6 separate regions of the Homo sapiens genome follow, and regions 1, 2, 3, 4 and 6 are each linked to region 5. The links are contacts of gene promoters, found by promoter capture Hi-C in blood cells and fetal thymus (Javierre and others, 2016). All regions are on one chromosome and are shown on one strand. The core of a region is centred on a gene start or on the middle of the fragment in contact, and the rest is flanking DNA. Distances in the headings are between cores, read along the strand shown.

What was found. The method cuts DNA at HindIII sites, captures the fragments that hold promoters and counts their contacts. A CHiCAGO score of 5 or more calls a contact.
Region 1: a fragment that was not itself captured here is called in contact with the fragment with the promoter of TMEM30B in region 5 in 9 of 17 cell types (activated CD4 T cells, fetal thymus, total CD4 T cells and 6 more); the score reaches 10.7 in activated CD4 T cells.
Region 2: a fragment that was not itself captured here is called in contact with the fragment with the promoter of TMEM30B in region 5 in 3 of 17 cell types (M1 macrophages, M0 macrophages and M2 macrophages); the score reaches 5.8 in M1 macrophages.
Region 3: a contact is called between a fragment that was not itself captured here and the fragment with the promoter of TMEM30B in region 5, in 2 of 17 cell types (activated CD4 T cells and monocytes). The highest score is 7.3, in activated CD4 T cells.
Region 4: a contact is called between the fragment with the promoter of MNAT1 here and the fragment with the promoter of TMEM30B in region 5, in 1 of 17 cell types (M2 macrophages). The highest score is 6.6, in M2 macrophages.
Region 6: a fragment that was not itself captured here is called in contact with the fragment with the promoter of TMEM30B in region 5 in 6 of 17 cell types (naive CD4 T cells, activated CD4 T cells, naive CD8 T cells and 3 more); the score reaches 9.2 in naive CD4 T cells.

What each region holds. Positions count from the first base shown.
Region 1 is chr14:61,813,088-61,817,067 of GRCh38, reverse strand. The region is part of intron 1 of SYT16 (synaptotagmin 16); the gene reads right to left. Among named protein-coding and RNA genes, the nearest start is that of SYT16, 2.4 kb to the right of the region's middle. The HindIII fragment of the contact is 552 bases long and covers 2,207-2,758 here.
Region 2 is chr14:60,660,262-60,664,434 of GRCh38, reverse strand. No RefSeq gene overlaps it. Among named protein-coding and RNA genes, the nearest start is that of SIX1, 13 kb to the right of the region's middle. The HindIII fragment of the contact is 7,553 bases long and covers 1-4,173 here.
Region 3 is chr14:61,863,968-61,868,253 of GRCh38, reverse strand. The region is part of intron 1 of SYT16 (synaptotagmin 16); the gene reads right to left. It also overlaps the pseudogene MOCS3P1. Among named protein-coding and RNA genes, the nearest start is that of SYT16, 53 kb to the right of the region's middle. The HindIII fragment of the contact is 8,411 bases long and covers 1-4,286 here.
Region 4 is chr14:60,733,023-60,737,110 of GRCh38, reverse strand. MNAT1 (MNAT1 component of CDK activating kinase) reads right to left here and starts at 2,350. Exons shown (of 8, transcript NM_002431.4): 1 at 2,160-2,350. The coding sequence starts at 2,248. RefSeq lists enhancers at 2,057-2,126, 2,237-2,336. The HindIII fragment of the contact is 2,495 bases long and covers 458-2,952 here.
Region 5 is chr14:61,279,942-61,284,108 of GRCh38, reverse strand. TMEM30B (transmembrane protein 30B) reads left to right here and starts at 2,771. Exons shown (of 1, transcript NM_001017970.3): 1 at 2,771-4,167. The coding sequence starts at 2,962. The coding sequence ends at 4,017. It also overlaps a transcript of PRKCH not described here. RefSeq lists an enhancer at 3,346-4,167. The HindIII fragment of the contact is 12,699 bases long and covers 64-4,167 here.
Region 6 is chr14:61,792,469-61,796,663 of GRCh38, reverse strand. It overlaps SNAPC1 (small nuclear RNA activating complex polypeptide 1), which reads right to left. Exons shown (of 10, transcript NM_003082.4): 9 at 3,762-3,857; 10 at 236-1,715. The coding sequence ends at 1,681. Among named protein-coding and RNA genes, the nearest start is that of SYT16, 18 kb to the left of the region's middle. The HindIII fragment of the contact is 8,237 bases long and covers 1-4,195 here.

The sequences.
Region 1 (3,980 bases), core at 1,233-3,732, 530 kb before region 5:
TCCAATTAATAAATAATCTTTGGGGAAAATGCTTTTTTTGTGTGTGTGTGTGTGTGTGTGACGGAGCCTCACTCTGTCGCCCAGGCTGGAGTGCAGTGGCAGGATCTCGGCTCACTGCAAGCTCCACCTTCCGGGTTCACGCCATTCTCCTGCCTCAGCCTCCCGAGTAGATGGGACTACAAGCGCCCGCCACCACGCCCGGCTAATTTTTTGTATTTTTAGTGGAGACGGGGTTTCACCATGTTAGCCAGGATGGTCTTCATCTCCTGACCTCGTGATCCGTCCGCCTCGGCCTCCCAAAGTGCTGGGATTACAGGCGTGAGCCACCGCGCCCGGCCAAGAGTGGAAGTTCTTAACTAAGAAAGAAAGAGCTCTCTGCAGCAGAGAGGGATCCTAAAGAAATGGGTTGTCCTGGGGGAAATTCTTTAACAATGTAAATAATTCTGTTCCTCTTAAAATTTTCACATAACAGTTCAGCATCCATGGATGAATCTTGCTTGAATTAATTATTGCTATGATGGTTTCAAAGTAGTAATTTTCTAACTCTCTTTGTCTATATTTTTTAGTTGGCATCATTTGTAAACTTTTTAATAATGACTAGGGTTAGAAATCATTTAACTCAAGATTTTCCATCCATTTTCAGCCAAAGTGAAGCAATTTTCTTTTAAAGTCTAGGCATCTGAAATCCTGAATATCTCAAGTCACTGTTTAGCACTAGTTTCTAACGTGGACTTGTTGAGGGCTTATATTTGATCCCCGACCCCCACCCACCCTCTTCCAGGACTGAGCACTGAGTGGAAATTGCTGATGGAGTAGACAGGATGGGGAGAAAGGAAACTGCAGGTTGCCAACAAGAAAGAAGGAGGGAAAAAGTGGCTGCTGGTGGAGACTGACTGCAGGGCAGGAACATCAGCCTGGGATGCAACAGGCAAAAATGACACAAGATCAGCCAGGAAACCAGGAGCACCCAAACGGGGACAGATGTCTCCTTTTACAATACCAAATGTTCATCTGTCACAGCCCCAAAGACACATCCACCTGAAAACTGCCCAAGATTTCTGGGGTATAATAGAGTTAGATGTTTCCAACATTACCTAAACATGCCTGGCTGATCCTAAGAAATTATTCTTACAAACAGATTAAAGTGACTTCAAAACTAAACACCTATAAAAGGAAGTACTAATAATGCAACATATGCCATAAATGGAATAAAAAAATAAAATAGCGCTTCACTACTTTTGTGTTCTGGAAACAAAATATTATCTGGAATACTTGTCACTGAGGAAATCATGAAATAGTTCAGTACCCAAGTACCACCACTTTATATAACAGACTGGGATCTCAAAGTTCCTCACGATTTCATGATAACTTACTGAAAACCTAGTTGAAGCTCTCGAGTTCCCCTTTTCTCCTCTGGAATCTGCCCTTAGACAGCATGCTATCTAGATATAAGAACATTTTCTATTGGCTATGTTCTTTTTTGTGAACATTATAAGTTTCCAGGCAAATATTTTAAAAATATCTCCATATTTTATATAATTTACATGCTACATTCATATAGAAGGTCTTTCTGGATTCTCTCCAGAAATGACTGGAATAGAATACTTGGATTTCGCCTGGTTTTAGAACCAATTTTTCCCTCAAGGGGAAATTTTGTGGGGGAGAAAAATGGGGGTTGAGGGAAGCACTCAGCTATAGCCCTAAGGCAATATTGTGCCCAGGTTTGATTTATCTTATCGAGGTCATGTAGTCACTGCATGGTGACAAGACAGGACTGCTAAAGAAGTGATCATCACTCTGTTCCTACCTCCCTCTCACCTGTCACTTCCTCACCTGCAGAGGTAAGGAGAAGGACAGAGGAACAGTAGTTCCTGTATCACTGGAACTTGTTAGAAATGTGAATTCTCAGGATGCACCCCAGACTTACTGAATCAGGAACTCTGGGAGTGAAGTCCAGCGATCTGTTTGAATAAGTCCTCTGAGTAACTCTGATGCATGTTAAAGTTTAAGACCTCCTTTTTAAAAATACTGATGTCAGGGTCTTTTTTAAAGCTCTCTGGAGTAATTCTAATATGCAACTAGGACTAAGAACCAGAGCTAACTAAAGAATTCTGTATCTGGGAGAAGCCCTGGGCTCTACGTTTTCAAAATCATCTCCATGCTAACAGAAGGTTGTAGGACTTCGGGCTGCAAACATGGTCAAGCTTTGCGGGAAATTTTTCAAGACACTGACTGAGAATACTTTCCTTCTCTCCCTTTTGATAGTAGGGACACATAGTAAGCCTCTCACATTAGTTTTGAATAAGAAAAAAGACAAAATAATGTTTCTCCACAGTTTGGAAACCTTTCAGATTTCTAGCTCCATCTCAGCTAAGAAAGAACATAAGATTGAGCCTAAAAAACTGGTCAAGAGCTGAGATGGTCAGATATCATCATAATTTTTTCATAAACAAAATCAATGGGCAAAAGTTTGATTCTTCAGTACAGTTGAGTATACCATATAAGGAAGTAGAAGAAACATCAATCTAAATAAATTGGTATGGAAGCATCTCAGTTTATTTTTCTAGGGTACTAAATGTATCATCTTAACCAAAACATAAGAAAGTAAATAGCAGAACAGTGTCTCACTGCATGTGTGTGATGCACAGTTGCTGGTAGATACTTTGAACCCCTTTGCCTTTGTTTTTCATTAATAACACAATAAGGCCAAATCTCATGATCTCCTTCTTTGTTGAGTCTTACTTTGTTAAGTAAAGCTTCAACCATAATTTTTTTTCTAAACACACACACACACGAATGGAATCACACTTTGTATAAATGAACAGAGCTGAGGAAAGGGAAATTTGGCCCAAATTAGCTGATTTTACTGGAAACACCTGATCAACATTTTTCTCTTTAAAAAGGAGGAAAGCATGTTGGTATCCCCACACATATCAGATGATGGCAAAACAGCAGGGAGAGGACAACCACCATTTACTGAAGGCCACCTGTGTGCCCATCGCTTGTAAGAGCTATGAATGACAGCCTTGTCCTAATTTAGAGAAACTGAGGACAGTGCCATGGTCCCACTGCTAGGGAATTCTAGAGAGATAAAATACAGGTCTGTTTGACTACAAAAACTCAAGCTCTCCACACTATCCTAAAGCTGTGTTCTTGGCTGGGATGATTGTTTACAAGAAAAATAATAAATTATTGCAGAAATTTTGACATCTCATTTTCCCATCTCTTTTCCTCCTCACCTCTCAAAAAAAAAAAAAAAAAAATACCTTCCAAAGGGCCTCTGTAGCCAGCACACCATTTGATTTTTGTTTTTTTCCTCTGTGGCCCAGACTGGAGTGCAATGGCAGGGTCATAGCTCACAGCAGCCTCGCACTCCTGGGCTCAAGTGATCCTCCCGCCTCGGCCTCCCAAAGTGCTGGGATTACAGGCCTGAGCCAGCACATCCAGCCCCATTCACTCATCTAATGAAGTCCCTAACATGCGCCACACCTGTGCTAGGGACTTTGGATGCTAGGTACGCAGGTGTGACTTGGTTTTACTCTGAACTCCCTTTGAAGCTTCACTAATACGTATCTGGCTTCAAACGCAACTAACTTAACCAGTTTTCACAGACGGGATTCCAATTTCCAAAGGCACTGAGCCATAAGAGCAGCGGTGCCAAGATGCCAAAAGCAGGCCAACCCAGCGCCTTCCAACGCTTCCATTCAGAGTTTCAACCTGATGTCTCCAGGCACTCCTCCCACCCACTGACCATGGTAACCAGATGCGGTCTCCAGCCGGCCTTGTGCTGCCCGCTGCGAATACAGCCCGTGGGCCACCGGGCAGCCGAGCCATGCAAGCCACCCTGATCCCCAAAAGGCAGACGCACAAACCCGACCCAGAACTCGAGGCGAACCTTGAACTCACAGCGCCAAAAACGCGCAGTGCCTTCGTTTGCCCGGCTCGCTGAAGGCTGGCTCTGGGCCTGGGGGCAGTGCCCG
Region 2 (4,173 bases), core at 673-3,172, 620 kb after region 5:
CTGGACAACCACTTTTAACTTCTTCATACAGTCTATTTTCTACTCCTTTTATCATATTGTGACAACTCTCCAGAGCTTCTCCATTTCTTGCAAATCTTGAGGGAGGGCAGGTCTAATTGAGTCACAGTATTCCACAGGGGTCATGTACAATGAAGAGATGTTTAAAAATTTTTGGCCTTTTAAGCTGGCATTTAGCTAGCAATACTGGATACTCTGCAGTGTTCATTGGATGATGAGATTTGCTTAATTTTTGCAACGGTGCTTGGATTTTCTTCAGAGGTTTTTCTTTCTTGTCACTCCTGATCTGGTGTCACTTCCTACTATCTCATTTAGCAAGACCAATCACTTAAAAAGGACAAATGATTTCATACCTAATTACTAGTTAGAAACATTTTAATTCCTACAAAATTCTTCAGAAACCCAAAGATTCTCCTCCCATCCTGCCAAAAATCTAATCTACAAGTCCTCTTTAGAATGGTACAAAGAAAAGTAAATTTTGATTAGGTAAAAATTTGAAGTTTAGATTTTATTCCTGCTGATTTGTTATGCTCTACTCTTAGGCAGAGTGGATGTTTATTCTCAAAGGATAGCCCACCGACCAGTTGCATCAAAATTATCTGGGGTGCGGCCAGGCACGGTGGCTCATGCCTGTAATTCCAGCACTCTGGGAGGCTGAGGTGGGTGGATCACCTGAGGTCAGAAGTTTGAGACCAGCCTGGCCAACATGGTAAAACTCCATCTCTACTAAAAATACAAAACTTAGCTGGACATGGTGGCGAGCGCCTGTAATCCCAGCTACTCTGGAGGCTGAGGCTGGCGAATTGTTGGAACCCGGGAGGCGGAGGTGGCAGTGAGCCGACATCGTGCCATTGCACTCCAGCCTGGGCAACAGAGCGAAACTCTGTCTCAAAAAAAAATTATCTGGGGTGCTTGTTAAAATGCAGATTTCATGGTCCCACTTTAAACCGAGGGAATCAGAAACTCTTGGGGCAGGGTCCTGTAAACTGTATTTTATAAATGCTTCAGGTCAATTGCATGTACATTACAGTTTGTGAAGCATTGCCCTAAAGATCAACCAAATTCTTAATTTCTAGTGTATCTTATATTTCTTCTCCTCAATAAGCCAAAGAAAGAATTGTAAGCATTAAAAGTACAGGCCAAATCTTGTCATAGAATGTGTATTCTATTGTAACTCTGTTTATGATCACTTAATAGCTTCTGTGTGGGACAGTTAAGCTGTAGTAATTACCTCATGGTTCTGTAATCTGTATGTCTCCTCCCACATGACATTTGTACCAACTAAGACTATGGCTTACTTCCAGACAGAATGGAAGAACTACCAGATCTAGGTGGGCTGATGCCACTTCATGTTACATCGTTTTTCTTGGTAATTTAAAGACATTTATCAAATTTCTCACAAATCTTGACCCTGAATTATAGAGGAGAAAAATATTTTACAAAAACTCACTAAATCCAAGTCACTTTAATCACTGACCTCTTTGCGAAAAATTGCCTTTTAAATAAATTGGGAAGGATCTGGGATTTATAGCTCTTGCCCCCAAACTGCCTCTGAATTATATTACCTTAAGCAAATTATGCGACCTCTCTGCCACGGTGTTTTGGATTTTTTTTTTTAAACAGGGTCTTGCTCTGTTGCCCAGGCTGAAGTGCAGTGGTACAATCATAGCTCGCTATAGCCTCAAACTCCTGGGCTCAAGTAATCCTCTGGCTACAGCCTCTGCAGTAACTGGGACCAGAGACACATATCACCATGCCCGGCTTTTAAAATTTTTTTGTAGAGACAGGGTCTCACTATGTTTCCCAGGCTGGTCTTGAACTCCTGGGCTCAAGTGATCCTCCCATCTCAGCCTCCTAAAGTGTTGGCATTACAGGCTTGAGTCACTGTGCCCAGCTCTTGCTATGTTTTTGTAATAGAGATAATCACTGTTTGTAATAAGGATGATATTTCCCAAAATTTTGAGATGGATGAGATCAGGCTTGTAAAATATTACATGTTCTTGAATGAGGTATGGTAAAAGAAATGAAAATTGGGCTGTGTGCAGTGGCTCACACCTATAATCCCAGAACATTGAGAGGCTGAGGTGGGTGGATCACCTGAGGTTAGGAGTTCAAGACCAGCCTGACCAATATAGTGAAACCTGGTCTCTTCTAAAAATACAAAAATTAGCTGGGCATGGTGGCAGGCACCTGTAATCCCAGCTACTTGGGAGGCTGAGGCAGGAGAATCGCTTGAACCTGGGAGGCGGAGGTTGCAGTGAGGCTGAGATCGTGTCATTGCACTCCAGCCTGGGTTACAGAGTGAGACTCCTCAAAAAAAAAAAAAAAAAAAAAGAAAGAAAAAAGAAAAAAAATTATTACTATTCCTTGTATAGGCTGTTAATGAGTTATTAACCTATCATTAATGAATCTGCCTCTTGAAGTATTTCACTTCTTGTTTTTTCAGGCTTACTAGAGTGATGCAATCTGCTCATAAATTTTCCTGGAGTATTTGGGGAACTTTAAAATTGAAAAAGCAACATAATCTCCCTCCCAAACACACATGCACACACACATATGCATGCACTTGCACTCCCTAAGACCACAGCGTGCATCTTTATCTTCACTTTCTATTGACTAGATTGATTGAACTTACTAAACCATTTGGGTCATCAAAGCCTCAAGTGCCTTGGGTTAGCTAAAGTATCACAAAGTCCACTAGCTCATTAGCAGTAAACCCTAATGTAGCAAAGTGATTAGAAATAAATTATTTACTTGATGTCATTTGGTTGTAAAAATCATCCTTCCCATTTATAGTTTCAGTTGCAATTATGCAAAACTGTTATTTTAAAATTTTGCTCATTCAAAATTAAGGATTTTTGAGAATCTGATTAGACACAAAGCAAAACCAACACCTATCTGCATATCGCCATCATTAAATTCTTTAGTAATGAGGAACCCCTAGTTGGCTCAAGAGAATGTTTAAAGATTGTTCCAATATTTTCGATTTGCAGAGTAGGAAAAAGGATTTCAAAGTATCATTGAGTCTACTTGTTTGAAACCGATTAGCATACATTGTTGTGTTATTTTTAAAGTTAATTTTATAAGCACAAGATATGTAACCTTTATGAAAAAAGAAAAAACTGGAAAAAGAATCAGAATCTGGTATATATAAACAGATAAAATGGGTTGACAAGGTCTGGGTGCGGTGACTCACAACTGTAATCCCAGCACTTTGGAAGGCTGAGACTCGGGTGGGGGATCACTTGAGGTCAGGAGTTTGAGACCAGCCTGGCCAACCTGGTGAAACCTTGTTTCTACTAAAAATACAAAAATTAGCCGGTCATGGTGGCGGGCGCCTGTAATCCCAGCTACTCAGAAGACTGAGGCAAGAGAATCGCTTGAACCCCAGAGGCAGAGGTTGCGGTGAGCAGAGATTGTACCACTGCGCTCCAGCCTGGGCGACACAGGGAGACTCCGTCTCAAAAAAAAAAAAAAAAAAAAAAAAGGTTGACAAGTAGCCAGGCATGGTGGCACATGCCTGTAGTCCCAGCTACTCAGGAGGCTATTGTGGGAGGATTGCTTGAGCCCAGGAGTTTGAGTCCAGCCTGGAAAATGTAGCAAGATCCTATCTATAAAAAAGGAAAAAAAAATGCGTTGACAGATACAAAGAAAAATAAGTGAGGAATACATGTAATGGTGTGTTAAGGCTACTCCTCTTGGACTGTGGGTCCATATGAAAAAAAAAATGTTCTGGAACTCAGTAACAAATCACTATTGAGAAGTTCCTTACAGGGTGACATAAAAGTATTATTATTATTTTTGTTGAGACGTAGTCTCACTCTTGTCGCCCAAGCTGGAGTGCAGTGGCACGATCTCAACTCACTGCAACCTCTGCCTCCTGGGTTCAAGCAATTCTCCTGCCTCAGCCTCTTGAGTAGCTGGGATTACAGGTGAGCGCCACCACGCCCGGCTAATTTTTGTATTTTCGGTAGAGACGGGGTTTCACCATGTTGGCCAGGCTGGTCTCGAACGCCTGACCTTGTGATGCGCCCCACCTCAGCCTCCCAAAGTGTTGGGATTACAGGCTTGAGCCACTGCGCCTGGCCTACCTAAAGGTATTTTTATCCATCTTTACAGTGGCTGCAAAGAGATCTGGGGATAGTTCAGTTGCTT
Region 3 (4,286 bases), core at 1,527-4,026, 580 kb before region 5:
ATCACACTGATTAAGATTAAAAAAAGAGAGAAGACACCATTCTCAGAAAAGAGAGAAAGAACATCTCTTTAAATCCTTCCCAGACTACCCTTCCCAGACTCTGGCAACTATTATTCTACTCTCTACTTTAGGGAAAGAAAATTTAGACCAATATTTTTCATGAACAAGAATATAGACACACAAAACTCTTAAAATGTTATCCAAAGAAACCCAACCTAAAAGAGGTAATACATAAGAACAAGTGGAGTTTATCCCAATAATACAAGACTGATTCAACATTCAAAACTCAATGTAATTCAACATATTAACAGACTAGTTAAAGAAAACCATATGATCTTCTCTACAGATGCAGAAAAAGCACTTGGCAAAATTCAACATCTATTTTTGATCAAAACTTTCAGCAAACTAGGAATAGAAGGAAACTGCCTCAACTTCATAAAGAGCATCTTTGAAAAATCTACAAGCAACAGCAGACTTAATGGTAAAAGACTAAATGCTTTCCCCCAAGACTGGGAGCAAGGTCATCCTATTCAACAGTACAAACTTGTTAAATCACTTCCTAAGTCTGTCATATTTCTTATGCTGATGTAAATAGTATTGTTTTTTATTGTAAATAGTAATGTATTTTCATTGTAAATAATATTGTTTTAAGTTAATTGCTAGTATATAGAAAAACAATTTTTGTATATTTTCCCTTGCATCTTGTTAGACTCATTTATTAATTCTCGTAGCTTTTATGTAGATTCCAATTCATAGTTCAGAGCATATGGGTCTTCTAGACGTTGGCTACAGGGGAAATTCACTGAAGACAAACTAGCAAAATTCTCACAAACCGCATGAGAAAATGAGTCACCGTGAGGTTAAATCAGCAAATAAAGGGTTTTACTTCCTCCTTTTCAACCTATATGCCATTTATTTCTTTTTCTCAACAAATTTTAACGTACAAACAAGAAAATCCAGGAAGAATTTATTCACAGAAAATGATGAGTTAATTCTAAAATTGACATGGAAATAAAATGACCTAGATTACCCAAAACAGGATTGAAAAAATGAAAAAGAAAAAGATTTACACTACCTGATTTCAACACTTATTATATATAAAGCTACAGTAATCAAAGCAGTATGATATTAGCATAAAGATAGACACATAGAACAATGAAAGAGAAGAGAGACTCCAGAAATAATCTCAAACATATATAAATACTTTTCAGGAAAAATGCCTAGATAATGCAACCGGGAAAGGATAATCTCAACAAGTGCTATTAAAATAATTACATGTGCATATGAAAAAAAAAATGAGCCTAGACCCTTAGCTCACAACATAAGCAAAAATATAAAATGCATCACAGATCTAAATGTAACATCTAAAACTATAAAACTTCTAGGAAAAAACATTGGAGAAAATTCTTTTGACTTTGGATTAGGCAAAGATTTCTTCTGTAGAACACAGAAGGCACTAAATATAAAAGAAAAAATAATTGGATTTTATCAAAATTTAAAATTTTTACTCTTTAAAGCATGCTGTTAGAAAAACTAAAAGGCAAGCCACAGACTACAGGAGAGTATTTGCAAAATACATATCTGACAAAGAACTTGTATGCACACTAAAGAACCCTCATAATGCAATAATAAGACAAACATAATTTTTAAATGAACAAAAGATTTGAACACATATATTACCAAAGAATAGGTATAGATGGCAAATAAGCATATGAGAAGATGGTCAACATCATTAGTCATTGGAAAAATGCAAATTAAAACCAACATGAGATACCTTGTTATAACCATGAGAATGACAAAAATAAAAATAAATTGATGATATCAAGTATAATAGAAGATGTAAAGCAACTGGAAATGTCATACATTGCTAGGGAGAATACAAAATGGTACAGCCACTATGGAAAACATTTTGGCAATTATTTTTTCCTTTCTCCCCCACCCTCCTCTTCCTTTTTTGGCAATTTTTTGTAGAGCTAAATGTGTACCCATCTACCATATAACCCAGCCCCAGCAAGTCAACTCCTAGGTATTTACCCAAGAAAAATTAAAGCATGTATCCACACAAATACTTATACACGAGTATTCATAATAGTTTTTTTTTTCAGACTACAAAGGTGGTTTCCTTTATTTTGGTAAACTTTAAAGATCTCATTTTGATACTAATTCAAAATGCCAAATAGAATGACCCACTTTCTGAATAATTAAAACAACTTACATTTTAAACATGTATTTCTGTAGGATGTATTCTATCATCTGAAATATTAATAAGATCCAATAATTTCTTAAGTAAACAGTAAACTGATCCTAAGTATATAATCTGTGATCAATTTCGTAAGACTAAGTTTACTGCACCTTAATTCCAGATATAAAATGATTTAGAAAGCATTTTGACTGGGGGAGGTGGAAAATAAGGACAGGTAAATGATCTGCAGCTTAAATACAAAATCCTGTCACATTACATCTCACATGTTCAAGACACCCTCCATGTGCTGAAAAAAAATGATGATTCCCAGAAACAGTATAATCCATTAATAAGTCACCCAATATATAACAATTTTTAAAACTCTTTATAAAAAAGGAGTCCATGTATTCACAGATACTGTAGAATCTCCAGCTCCTATGTATATTACTGAAAAATGCAAATAAATATATCTTTGCGGTATTACGGCAATCCACATCTTTCCCATCAGACTATACCAGTCACCTTAGTACTGTGGAAATGTTCCACCGTTTTGGGCAGCCCAGGCCATGAGGTCCCCCACAATATTCCAAACTGTTAAATAGTCTAACTCTTGAGCTGCTGATGAGGCCTGGAGGATCTTCACGGCTTTCTGTGATTCATTTCCCAGTTTGTAAATCACATAAATGAGGAGAGCAGCCCCTTCTTGTGTGCCCTGTTTCCCTTTCCGGACTGCTTCTCCTAAGAGCTTCAGGCTCTCCGCATCCCTGCGTTCAGAGGGATGTGTAGGGCATGAGGCAAAAGACAGATGCTCACCTCCATCTTAGGCCTGATGTCCAGCAACAGATGGGGTGCCCCAGAATCCAGAAGTCGCTTATAGTCAGTGACAGAAACACGATCCTCTGGGCCCAGTAACTGCAGGGAGCGGCATTTATCGGTGGCTGAGGAGCCACAGAAGGCTTCATAGTCCAGCAGATGAGTCACAGTGGGCCATTTCCCGCAAGCTGCACAGTCGAGCCTGCAGCTCCGCAGCCGAATACAGCAGAAATGCCCTCTCAGGGCATCAAAGAGCAACAGGCTGCCACTGTAAGAGGGGCCCAGACTCGCAGCAATTTTCAGCACTTTCAAGGCCTGCAGGCAGCCCAGGACCCCGGTTAAGACACGGAGCATCCCGCCATCCGCGCAGTTGGTCACTGTCTCCGCCGGGGGTGGCTGGGAGAATATGCAGCGATAGCAAGGCCCACCGTCATAATGGTAGACTGTGATTTAGCCCTCCAGGCGCTGGCAGACACTAGGGCCCAACCGGCCAGCCACATGCGTCATTAACCAGGTAGCGAGTGGACACGTTGTCCGAGCAGTCGCCACCACATCATATCGGCGGAGCGGGTCTAGGGTAGGGACCGGCATAAAAGGGCCTGAGAGTACCGCACTCATTCCACCGCCAAATTGAGGCCGCGCAGCGAGGCGGCGGCCGAAGCGGCCTTGGCCTGTGCAGCCAGTGCCTCGCCATGCAGCACTTGGTAGGCCAGGTTGCTCATCTCTACCACATCATAATCCACAAGGCCAAGGCGGCCCACGCTGGCCGCTGCCAAGTACTGCGCCAGTGGACAGCGGAGCCCACCGCAGCCCACGACTAGCACGTGTCTGTGCACGCCCAGCTCGGGCAGCACTAACTGCCGGCTAGAGCGCAGAATCTCATCTTGGAACACAGCGGCCTTCCGCGGCAGCTGCAACACCGAAACCAGTCGTTCTGGCTGCGGTTCCTGCTCCGCCAAAAGGGCCGCTGCCAGCTTCTGCTTCAGGGAATTCAATTCCTCCTCACGTTGGACAACGTCAGCCTGTAAGGGGAGTACCTCCTCCTGGGTCGTAATAGTTTTATTCATAATAGTGGAAAATTTGAAACAACCCCAAGTCTACCAATTGGTGAATGGATAAACAAATTGTGGTCTATTCATACAAAAGTATATTCCTCCACATAAAACAGAACAAATTACCAGAATAGTCCATGCAGTATTGAAGAAGAACAAAGTTGGAGGACTGATACTACCCAACTTCAAGACGTGCTATAAAACTACAGACAATGTAGCATTGGTGAAAGAATAAATCG
Region 4 (4,088 bases), core at 1,101-3,600, 550 kb after region 5:
TAGATTAAAGTACTTCTTTAAAAGGATGATTAATTAGACAACATGCTAAAGAGTTCATATTAAGAAAATTACAACAGAGTCCTTATAATTAAAGCTGTATTTTCACATTTCATAGTGTACTGAAATCATTTAAAGCTAATCATTATTGTGCAAGTATTTCATAGCAGGCCAAATAAGTCCTGTTTTAATTTTATTTCTGCTTATCACCCATGCCACACAAAGAATAATAATAATAAAATAGCCAATATATAGTAAACAAATATTATGTGACAGAATACTAAATATCTCTAAATATTTTCCATATATTATTTAATACTTAAGGACCGTGATACAAGCAGCACTATTTTCTCTATTGTACCAACAAGAAGAACGGCTAACAAAGAGTTAGTCATTTCCCTAAGGCCACAGAGCCGGTAAGAGTAAAGAATGTGAAATCAGACAGGCTCATTCCAAAGCTTGTTCTCTCAGCCAATACGCTACAGCTTTTCACTCATTTTGTTCACATTTCAAGTCAAAAAAGGACTGTAAAATGTAGCCTGTTATCTAACAGGTTAGCAAATTAACCACATTAAATGCAACACCAGAATGAATTAGACAAAAGTCTTAACTCTTAGATCTTAACAAAAAGGGCTGAGGATACAACAAAAGCAATTTCAATTAAAATAAATATTTTATACTTGCCCAATTAAAATGCCATTTATGTTACTGAAATCGTATAATCTTCCCTGAATGGCTAAGTGCTGCTAGGCCAGAAAATTACATTTAGCATCCTTCTGGTAAATTACATTTAGTTAGTATCCTTCCCAAAAAAAAAAACAAACTCTCTTTCCTGTTCCACCATAACAAACCTGATAAAGAAAAATGGAGAGAAATTGAACGAAATCTCTCTAAAAACAGTCTATCTACAGTGTTTTTCCATGTAGAATTCCCTTTTCCATGCATTCTTCTTGATTACTTTTACCTTACTTCTAATCTTAAATCATTCAATCACAGCTCTACTATACTTCTTTGCAGAGTAAAGCAAAGGAAAATAAAGATCAATTAGAAAAGTTAAGTAAGCTAATAAATTCCATATAATAATTATAGCTACAGCTAATCATGCAATTTATGCTTACCTAAAGACCCTGTCATTGCTCTACATTTTTGTCAGCACTTGGGGGGTTGGGAGGAGACCTTGTCTACACACTGTAGATTATCCATTATTTTTTGCCTCCAATAAACCTGAAAGAAACTACAGGAATATATGCTCGCCATTACATGGCACCTTTTTATCTCAAAGTGCTTTCTAGAACCACCTTCACTAAACCACATCTGACAAGAAATCTGGCAAGAAACACTTTGACCAATCCCTGTTTCAAAATACACAAACTCAACCTCCCTCCTTCTGCCCCCTTCCCCTGAAAATGGGCGTTCTAAAGTCAGACTTCCTGGGTTCCAATTCTCTCAAGGCCCACTTAATAAGGGACCTTGAGCAGTCTCGATTTCCTTCCCTGTGAAATGGAAATACCAGTATCTACTTCATGGGACTGTTGTAGGAATGAACTGAGATAATTCATGGTAAGGCGCTTAGAACACTGTCTGGCACAAAATGTGCACTCAAATGCCAGCCATTATTATATCTTCAAAATTAACTACCTACAGTCCGGGTTTTCTTCATTTTAGTGATGGGAGTCTAACCGAACTCCATCAGGACAAGTGGGCATACACACAGGGTTTTTTAATTAACTCATACAATAAATAGCAGCAGTATATACTCAAGCAAATTTTAAGTTTTCATAGCACTTTCGCACTTTTTCAATAAAAACATTTCATATGAAATAAACACTCCAATCCCCCACGCTTTTAATCAGCGATGTCCAGAGCCCAGTAAACAACACAAAGCCTGGAAATACAGTCGGGATACTCATTGGCTATGGAAGGGGGAACCTGACAAACTGCTGGATGCCACACTGAGAACCCGCAGTTCAAAGCAGGCCAGAGCCGCTCGGGGCTAGCGGCTACAGTCTATTTAAAGTCACAACGCCTTCTTTTCCCATTTTCCTCCCCAGTGTTGAAACTAACAACGCCCTTTGCTCCCAAGACGAGGCCTAGCATCTCCCGGTCCTCTCCTCCCACCCAGCGCGTCTCTCCCCCAGGGAATCCACTGCCGCCCAACTCACAGAGTGTGTCCGCACACATTCACCATCAGCTTCAAGGAGGGGTTCCGATATTTGGTGGTCTTACACCGAGGGCAACCCTGATCGTCCATGGCGGTTTCCCTCCTACAGACTCTCGCAGGCGCCTGTTTCAGCCAGAGCCACCTACAAGCCCCCTCAGACGCGACCAAGCAGGTTCCTACCAACAGGCGCTTGGCAGAGACGGTCCCTTCGCGAAAGAGCACCGGCAAGGGGCGAGGCGCTGCAACACAAACGTTCCGGCAGTCAGTTCCCCCGGTCTTGCATCTAGGGCTTGGTCTTAGCCTTCCATAAAGCAACTTAATACCTTGAATTTGACAGGGGAACTTTTAAAATGGCAAATTATACAAAGCCTTATCTCCACGCACCCAGTTGCATTTTTCAAGGTACTGTGTCACAATTAGGAAGATAAATTCCATCTTGTTCTGTCTGGAAACATTCCCATGATTTCAAAGATTTATGAGCGGTGTACTTACTTTCTTTTGGACCATTTAATAGCCTGTGCTTTATACTTCTTTATAATTGCATAGTCATGTCAGCTCAGCTGATAATATGCATTCGCAGATACAAAATATGAAAAAGCTATCTACTCCATCAGACAGTATTTATTTCCCCAAATACCTAGGAAAAAATCATATAAGAATACATACAGAAAAATTTAGTTCTGCAATTCCAAGATCTGATAGCCTGAATATCTTTGTAAATTGTAAACCATGTTCATCACATTTATCAAGAAGGCAAATTGAAGTCTGTAAACAGCTCTATTAAATAATAAGCTTTCCCACTGTAAAGGACACATCTTATTCATCTCCAAAATAAAGATTTGTTGATTCTTAATGAGTAAGTAGACTAAGTGAAGAATTAATGAATGACTATCAAACAATAGTGTAATGTGAAAATTTTTAGTGTCAAACATTTTTTGTAACCACCTTCATCTGACCCAAACTCCATCAGAAGGGAACATGCAAACTAGATTTTTCAAATAATCTGATACAATGAGTATAAGCTATAAACATTTATAGTAATTTTAACTCATCATAGAACTTGTGTTCTTTTCAATAAAAAGTAATATTCAATTCACATTTTTAAACAGTGAACCTGGTAGGGAACCCAAAACCCAAAAATACAGTTGGGATTTCCATGGGTATAGAGAGGGATGCTGACAAACAGCTGGATACCACACCCAGGAACCAGCAGATCAAAGCAGGCTGTGACAGAGCTTTACATTAGTATGAAGACATCAAGGATTCATCTAATAAATAAACCATATCATCTCTTTGATCATAATATTGTTCCTCAACAGGAGTTAACCAAACATAAACTTACTAAAATAGGTAACACCAAATACTATGCTACTATGCTGACCCGGAGGCTTATTATGCTGCTGCTATTGTCTTATTGAAAGACCACATCCAGACCAGTTACATGATTCAGAGTGAAGCTCTTCAAGAACAAAGGCAACTCTAGTACTTTATATTTTGGACCATTTAATAGCCTGTGCTTTATACTTCTTTATAACTGCATAGTCATGTAAGCTCAGCTGATAACATACAAGAAACTTCTGGTGAAAGAATGAATATGTCATATGTGCAAATAAAATTTTTAGCCAATACTACATTGAGGTCATCCACTCAGATGGCATTATAGTTTATTGCCACTAGGACAATTTTTGTGTGTTTGTTTGTTTGTTTTGAAACAGGATCTCCTTCTGTTGCCCAGGCTAGAGTGCAGTGGCCCGATCACAATTCATTGCAGCCTTGAACTCCTGGGCTCAAGTCATCCTCCCACCTCAGCCTTCTAAGTAGCTGGGACCTCAGGCACTAGCCACCAGTCCCAGCTAATTTTTTATTTTATTTTTTTAAGAAATGGGATCTCACTATGTTGCCCAGGCTGGTCTTGAATTCCTGGGCTCAA
Region 5 (4,167 bases), core at 1,522-4,021:
AGTGGCTCTGGCTGGTGGATCAGCGTCTCCAGCCTGCTCCTGCCTTTGCACTATCAGTAAGCTTGCCACCCCTCTTTTCAACCTCATCTGCACTATTATCTTTTTCCCTCAGGATACACACTTCTCTGACATCTAAAAAAGAAGCCTTTCCTTTAGGATACATGCTCTTCTAGACAGTTATCACTTGCCTTTCTCCTTCCCTTTCCACACATTTCTAAAAACAGGCTTTCCCCTTTAGAACCCCATTCTCTCTTTTTTTATTTTATTTTTATTTTTTGAGACAGGGTCTTGTTCTGTTGTCCAGGCTGGAGTACAGTGGCGCAATCATAACTCCCTGGTTAAAGCTATCCTCCCACCTCAGCCTCTTGAGTAGCTGGGACCTCAGGCACATGCCACCACACCCAGATAATTTGTTTTTATTTTTTGTAGAAACAAGATCTCGTTATATTGCCCAGGCTAGTCTCAAACTGCTGGGCTCAAGTGATCCTCCTGCCTTGGCCTCCCGAAGTGCTTGAATTATAGGCATGAGCCACCATGCCCAGCAAGACCTCATCTCCAAAAAATAAAAATAAAAATAAAAAAAGAGTGTCTTCCTATCTTGCTATCTGCTTCCCTTTCCCTGCACCTGATGGTAACCTCATTCCTGCCACACAAACCACCCAAAGTGTTCCCACAAAAGTCAAACCCCATAATTCCTTTTCATTTATCTCACTTGAACCCTCAGCTGTGTTTAACTCTGCTGACCATTCCTTGTCTTGAAATATTCTCTTTTGACTTTGAAAATCTGTCACCTTAATTAGTGGAATGAATAAACTAGTACCTTTAGGCCATCCAGGAATAGGAGAAAAGGAGGAAAGGCTCTGAGCTCAAGAATGGGGCTTGCCCTTTTAGGGGTGTGGTGGTGATCTACTAGAAAAAAGACTTAAGATTTACCAGATAGGCTTGGTGTGATGGCTCACACCTATAATCCCAACAATTTGGGAGGCTGAGGCAGAAGGATCTCTTGGGCTCAAGAGTTTGAGACAAGCCTGGACAACTGAGGGAGACACCTCTCTCTCAAAAAAAAAAAAATCTACAAAAGTTGTGAAAACTGAATTCCTTCCTAGAGACGAGTTTTGTGGACTAGTGATTCAATGAAACGGGTGGGTGGAACTCAACCATAATGATACAAAGAACTATTTATTCTTTTATTGAAAAAAAGGGTGACTGGAGACTGGATCACACTGTGGGAACTTGCTGAGAATTTTGGAACTTCCTCTCTTTGGGTATGATAAGAAGTGAGGGAATTGAAATTCAAGTCACTTGAATTTCCCTCAGTCTTCTATAATACCTGGTTTCCAACTTGCATTCATTTAACAAACTGGAATCAATGTTCCATTATTAAATCAATATTACTTTTTAATTTTAATGTGACTTGTAGAATGCAATTTGATACTTGATTACACCCTATGATTCATAGCTATTATTGGCTATTTTGATTGTTTCTTACTCCTAATATGTCCCCTATCAAACTGCAAATGCCTTGAGGTCAAAGGTCCTTTTTTGTCTAATTAGCATAGGACTGAACACTTGGAAGATGCTAACAACATTCCTCTGTTAAATTTAATAAGGATTTTAACTTTCCAAGTTCAATGGGTTTTGAATGACTCCTGAATATAATATATTATGCTAGGTGTAGTGTAATAGAGAAAACATTTGTATTACTTGCATTTTACAAGCTGGAGGAGAAGCAAGAACACAATACCTAGGGAAGATTTAGATTTAGTAAGAAATCAGAACGTCCCAATACCCCCTTGTATATGTTTTACCAACCTAGATTTAAAAAAAAAAAAAAAAAAGCCAGAATCCCAGGCAACATAGGGAGCTAATTTGAGTTCTTTTTATAATAAATCCTATAAATCCTTGTAGTTTACTTCCTTAGGCCAGACACTCCAGATGTTTTTGTGGATAGCAGCTAGGTCTCCTGGGACCTTGGATTGGGCCTTTCTCTAGTCAGGCAAATAATCTGAAAAGAAAACGAAATCACATGTAGTCCAGCACATTTTTTCCTTTCTTGGTTTCTCCACACCAGCTAAGAGTTATTTAAAGGCTCTGAACCTCTCCAGCCTTTGATTCTTTTTAAGGATGATTTTATTTTTAGAGAACTTTCCACATTTCCTAGTTATACAGCCAGACTGGGTGATCTGGCCAGAAAATCATTTTCCCTTAAAAAAAAAAAAAAAAAAAAAAAAAAAAAAAGCTAAAATTTGAACGCAGGCGTTGAATTCGAAACAGATTTATCATAACGTAATTCCCTGGACACTCCCAACTTGAGACTGAAAGCTGGGCGAAAGCGGTTTGTGAAGCTAACCTAAAAGACAAAATGGTCTAGAGCCACCTTTTCCCCGCAAATAACAGAGGATTAAGGATCTGAAATCTTCAAGCCTCCAGGACCACGGTGCAAGCCCTCAGCAAAAATTTCTGCTGGAGGCCGGAGCGCCTTTTGATTTCGGGAGACTGGCCCAGGAACTCTAGTCACTTGGAAGGCGGAAGAGAAGGTGGTACCTGAGCCAGGTAGGAGCCACTCAGAGGCAGCCCGGGGCCGCCACTCACCTAGGAGAGGAGGTGGAGTCCGATGACCTGGACTGAGAGGAAACGCGAGACTGAGTCTACCAGGTGAGGTAAAAAACACCCACCTGCTCACCTCGGAAGGGGCGGGCGAGGTGCGGCTCCCGGTGACCCGCGGGGGTGCAGCGCACCTGGGCGGAGGCGGAACTGGGAGGGTGTGGGCACTGCTCGTAGGGCCTGGAACTAAACTCACCTGTGACGGAGGCAGAGGAGGGGCCCGGGCAAAAACCCACCTGAGCTGGCGGGAAACCCGACCCGCGAGCAGTCCCCGGGCTTGCGCGGCGCGGAGAGGGAGGCGCCCCGCGGCGGGGCCCCCACTCGGTCAGCCCGCGCGTCGGTCCCCGCGCGGCCGCCATGACCTGGAGCGCCACGGCCCGGGGCGCCCACCAGCCCGACAACACCGCCTTCACTCAGCAGCGCCTCCCCGCCTGGCAGCCGCTGCTGTCGGCCAGCATCGCGCTGCCGCTCTTCTTCTGCGCGGGCCTGGCCTTCATCGGCCTGGGCCTGGGCCTCTACTACTCCTCCAACGGCATCAAGGAGCTGGAGTACGACTATACAGGCGACCCGGGCACCGGTAACTGCTCGGTGTGCGCCGCGGCTGGCCAGGGCCGGGCGCTGCCGCCCCCCTGCTCGTGCGCCTGGTACTTCTCGCTGCCCGAGCTCTTCCAGGGCCCAGTGTACCTCTACTACGAGCTGACCAACTTCTACCAGAACAACCGGCGCTACGGCGTGTCCCGCGACGACGCGCAGCTGAGCGGACTCCCCAGCGCGCTGCGCCACCCTGTCAACGAGTGCGCCCCCTACCAGCGCAGCGCGGCCGGCCTGCCCATCGCGCCCTGCGGCGCCATCGCCAACAGCCTCTTCAACGACTCCTTCTCGCTTTGGCACCAGCGCCAGCCCGGCGGGCCCTACGTCGAGGTGCCGCTCGACCGCTCCGGCATCGCCTGGTGGACCGACTACCACGTCAAGTTCCGCAACCCGCCGCTGGTCAACGGCAGCCTGGCGTTGGCCTTCCAGGGCACGGCGCCCCCGCCCAACTGGCGCCGGCCAGTCTACGAGCTCAGCCCCGACCCCAACAACACCGGCTTCATCAATCAGGACTTCGTGGTGTGGATGCGCACGGCGGCGCTGCCCACGTTCCGCAAACTGTACGCGCGCATCCGCCAGGGCAACTACTCGGCCGGGCTGCCGCGGGGCGCCTACCGCGTCAACATCACCTACAACTACCCGGTGCGCGCGTTCGGCGGCCACAAGCTCCTCATCTTCAGCAGCATCTCGTGGATGGGTGGCAAGAACCCCTTCCTGGGCATCGCCTACCTGGTCGTCGGCTCCCTCTGCATCCTCACCGGCTTTGTCATGCTGGTCGTCTACATTCGCTACCAGGACCAGGACGACGACGACGAGGAGTGATTCCGGCTTTCCAGGGATCCCTCCTGCTTCTTGCCAAAACTCTTGCAAGGTGCTTTTGGCATCTCCTCCTCGCCCGTCACCCAATTCCAACCTCGCCTAGCTTTTCCTCCCTTTGTGAATGAGGGGACCAGATAAGGGAATTACCCCCCT
Region 6 (4,195 bases), core at 1,063-3,562, 510 kb before region 5:
GAGAGGGCAACTCAGTGTGTTAGCTGTACAATGTCTATAAACTTTTAACAGTCAGACAAGTTCTGGCAAACAACCTAGTATATCAAGTGGGGCCAATAATGGATCTACACCCCAACCCTAGAATGTTTAAATCCAAGATGCTCCACCTAATGTCTACATTATGAAAACTGCCCCCTCTATGACCAAATATATTTGAAGTCAAAGGAATCAAAGGAAACAATTGTGACTGCATGAATGCTAATAAATGAAAATTTTATTTGCGTCAGCATTAGCATTCTGATTTTTAAAGATTAGATATAGAGATATCACGAATTTGATCTTCAACCCAAACTTTTTTTTTTTTTTGAGACGAAGTCTCACTCTGTTGCCCAGGCTGGAGTGCAGTGGCACGATCTCGGCTCACTGGGTTCACACCATTCTCCTGCCTCAGCTTCCCGAGTAGCTGGGATTACAGGCGCCCGCCACCACGCCTGGCTAATTTTTCGTATTTTTATTAGAGACGGGGTTTCACTGTGTTAGTCACGATGGTCTCGATCTCCTGACCTCGTGATCCGCCCACCTCGGCCTCCCAAAATGCTGGGATTACAGGCATGCAACCCAAACTTTAAATCCCTTAATAATACCATGCTGGAAAACAGCATGAAGTATAATCAACTGTGAAACAGGTTAAGGCTGGGTACAGTAGCTCACACCTATAATCCCAGTACTTTGGGAGGCTGAGGCAGGAGGATAGCTTGAGCCCAGGAGTTCAAGACCAGCCTGAGCAACATAGCGATACTCCATCTCTATTAGGGAAAAAAAAAAAACAGTTGAGCCAACAACATGATAGGGATATGGTCTGCTATTGGCAGCAATTCAAACAACATGGCTCAAGCAATCTCTATTAAAATGTCTGGAACAAGAAATTAACAGAGTGGCATATTCATGAAGCTACAGATTTTTTTTTTTCTGTTAATATCAACTATTCTGTACCAGAGACACATTCTGAAATTTACATTATTATTGTTAAAGATTTTATTAGAAAGTACTTAAATACTTAATACATTAGTATTTAAGTACTTGTTAGTACTTAATTAGTATTTAGTAATAATAAACAAGCACTAAAGAATATTTAATTGCAGAAGTAGAAAATACATTGTGAACTTCCTAAGTTATCAATCACGTTATGAGAATGTAAGTTTTATGTATTAAAAAATAAAGCAAGGCAAAAACTTTATTGCACTTAACAATATACAAAATAGAATAAATATACAAAATAAAAAATCCATTATCCGACTGTAGATACAAAATAGTTATTTGCATGTAATAAACATTAATATTTCAATAAAAAATATTTTAAATAAAATAGAATAGTATTACCAGACTGTATTAGGACAGTATAGTATCACAAAACCTTATAGGAAATAGTAACAATCTGCGAATAACAGAATTTTTTCTATTACATACTAAATACAAGTTTTATCTCCATTTATGCAAATCATTAAAGAAAATGTTAAAGAATTCTTATTCTAATTTTTTGTACTTTTATTCTAGAACTACGTATTGCAATTTCCAAGAAATAACCTACAGATTCCCAGAAGGATTTTTTTAATACTGGCAGTCTTCCTGTTCAATACACAAAATATCAATCTTTTCTTCTGTCAGAAAACTCAAAATTAAAAACTACACCAGGCTCTTTGTTCAGTGTTTTCTCCTCTTCTTGGATGCAGTGAACTCTAAAGACATAAAGTTTAAAAGTCAGTCAGATCTAAAAACAAAAAAAAAACAAACAAAAAAAACAACTGACACTTACATGATAATACCTAATTGATAATACACATTTCAACTACATAGACGTCTAACTGGTACAACACAATAAGAATGCCCTCACAGCAAAGACACAACAAAAAAATCTTAAACCTGACATATTCAAGAATTTTTTCTTCAAAATGATACAGCAGTTTAAAACATACTATCGGCCAGGTGCAGTGGCTCACGCCTATAATCCCAGCACTCTGGGAGGCTAAGGTGGGCGAATCATGAGGTCAGGGGATCGAGACCATCCTGGCTAACATGGTGAAACCCCATCTCTACTAAAATAAATACAAAAAATTAGCCGGGCGTGGTGGTACATGTCTATAGTACCAGCTACTCAGGAGGCTGAAGCAGGAGAATTGCTTGAACCCAGGAGGTGGAGGTTGCAGTGAGCCAAGATCGTGCCACTGCACTCCAGCCTGGACGACAGAGCGAGACTCCATCTCAAAACAAACAAACAAACAAAAAAAACACATAACAACAAAAAATACTACCTCCATTAAGGTAGTAAGATCTCAATCCTATTGCAATATCAATCTATTGAGATAGTGGCCCTTAGTCATTCTAAATCCTAATTAATAATAAGTTACTGTGAAGTTGTTTCATATGGGTACACCCTCCCTATAATTATATGAACCCAGGGTACTAGATCTCAAAGGTATTTAGGCCAGTACTAAGAAGAAGAAAATGACTAAGATTTCAATTTCATTTCAATTAAACCTAGAAATGTAACCCAAAACACCAGTACCACACATCATTCTGGCTACCACAGGAGATGCCAGAACCAACACTCGAATAATTGTCCATCTAGAAACAGCACGAACCTAAAGTTTACTGATCATTAAAAGCAAAGAAAGTAATAGAAAACACAAAAACATGAAAATTACAAAAGATGTGGCAAAAAGAAATATTCCGGCCGGGTGCAGTGGCTCCCACCTGTAATCCCAGCACTTTGGGAAGCCAAGGCAAGCGGATCACTTAAGGTCAGGAGTTCAAGACCAGCCTGCCCAACACGGTGAAACCCCATCTCTACAAAAATACAAAAATGAGCCGGGCATGATGGTGAGTGCCTGTAATCCCAGCTACTTGGGAGGCTGAGGCAGGAGAATCGCGTGAACCTGGGAGATGGTGTTTGCAGTGAGCTGAGATCACGCCATTGCACTCCAGCCTGGGTGACAGAGCAAGACTCTGTCTCAAAAAAAAAAAAAGAAAAAAAGAAAAGAAAAAAAAATATTCCCCACCAGTGAAAAACAAAAGGGAAATGGCAGAAAAAGAAAAAGAGAAAAGACAAGTAAAAAAAACAAATTAAGATGAAAACAAATTCCTAGGCCAGGCACGGTGGCTCATGCCTGTAATCCCAGTACTTTGGAAGGCTGAGGCAAGTGGATCACTTGAGCCCAGGAGTTTGAGACCAGCCTAGGCAACACAGTGAGACCCTGTCTCTACAAAAAATACAAAAATTAGCCAGGCATGGTGGCATGTGCCTTCAGTCCCAGTGACTCAAGAGGCTGAGGCGGGAGGGGAGGATAGCCTGAGCCGGGGAGGTCGAAGCTGTAGTAAGTCACTGTGATCAAGTCACCGCACTCCAGCCTGGGCAACCCAGCAAGACCCTGTCTCATGAAAAAAAAATAAAGAAAACAAATTCCTGGAAGAGAGCAGCAGTCAGGATTAGAAGTACTGGAACACTGTCCAGATGAAAGCAGGTCAGAGGTCTGACAGAGACATCTCTACAAAGATGAAACTGATAGGATACCTAATGGGTATCCATACCATTCATTTATTGTATTATCCCTGACTTTGAGATGTCATTAATGATATGACTAATACTGAAATTCTCCAATGGGTCAAAGATGAAAGGATCACAAGAACACACAGCAAACTGTCATGTTCCTCAAGGGTTCTAAACCTTGATGCTCTACGAGTATAAGTTAGTTTACTTGACTAGTTTGACCAAATTTTATCTGTACCTGTTCCACTCAAACTTTCATTCTCTTCTTCTTCTGTAATTACAGGCATACTCAGACTTAAAGGTTTATCTTCCTTGTGTATATTCTGCACATTGCCTAGAAATATTTAGAAAATGATTTTATATGAAAGCAAAGAATATTATAATCTTTGAGAAAACATTTTACAAAAACTGTCATTATTACAGCATAAAAATTAGACATGTAAAAACTGAAACTGTAATGGTAACAGAAATACGCATTCTAGAATACCTATATTTTTTCAAATACTAACATATTTGTATTTATACTTTGAAAATAGTCTCTAGTTCTTCCACTAGAGAAAACAGAGAAAAAAGGAATAAACAAAATTAGCCAAACACAAATACCATATTTAATCTTTACCACACATGACAGGGGTTATATCTGCAGCCATCAAAGAATAATCACATATGTTA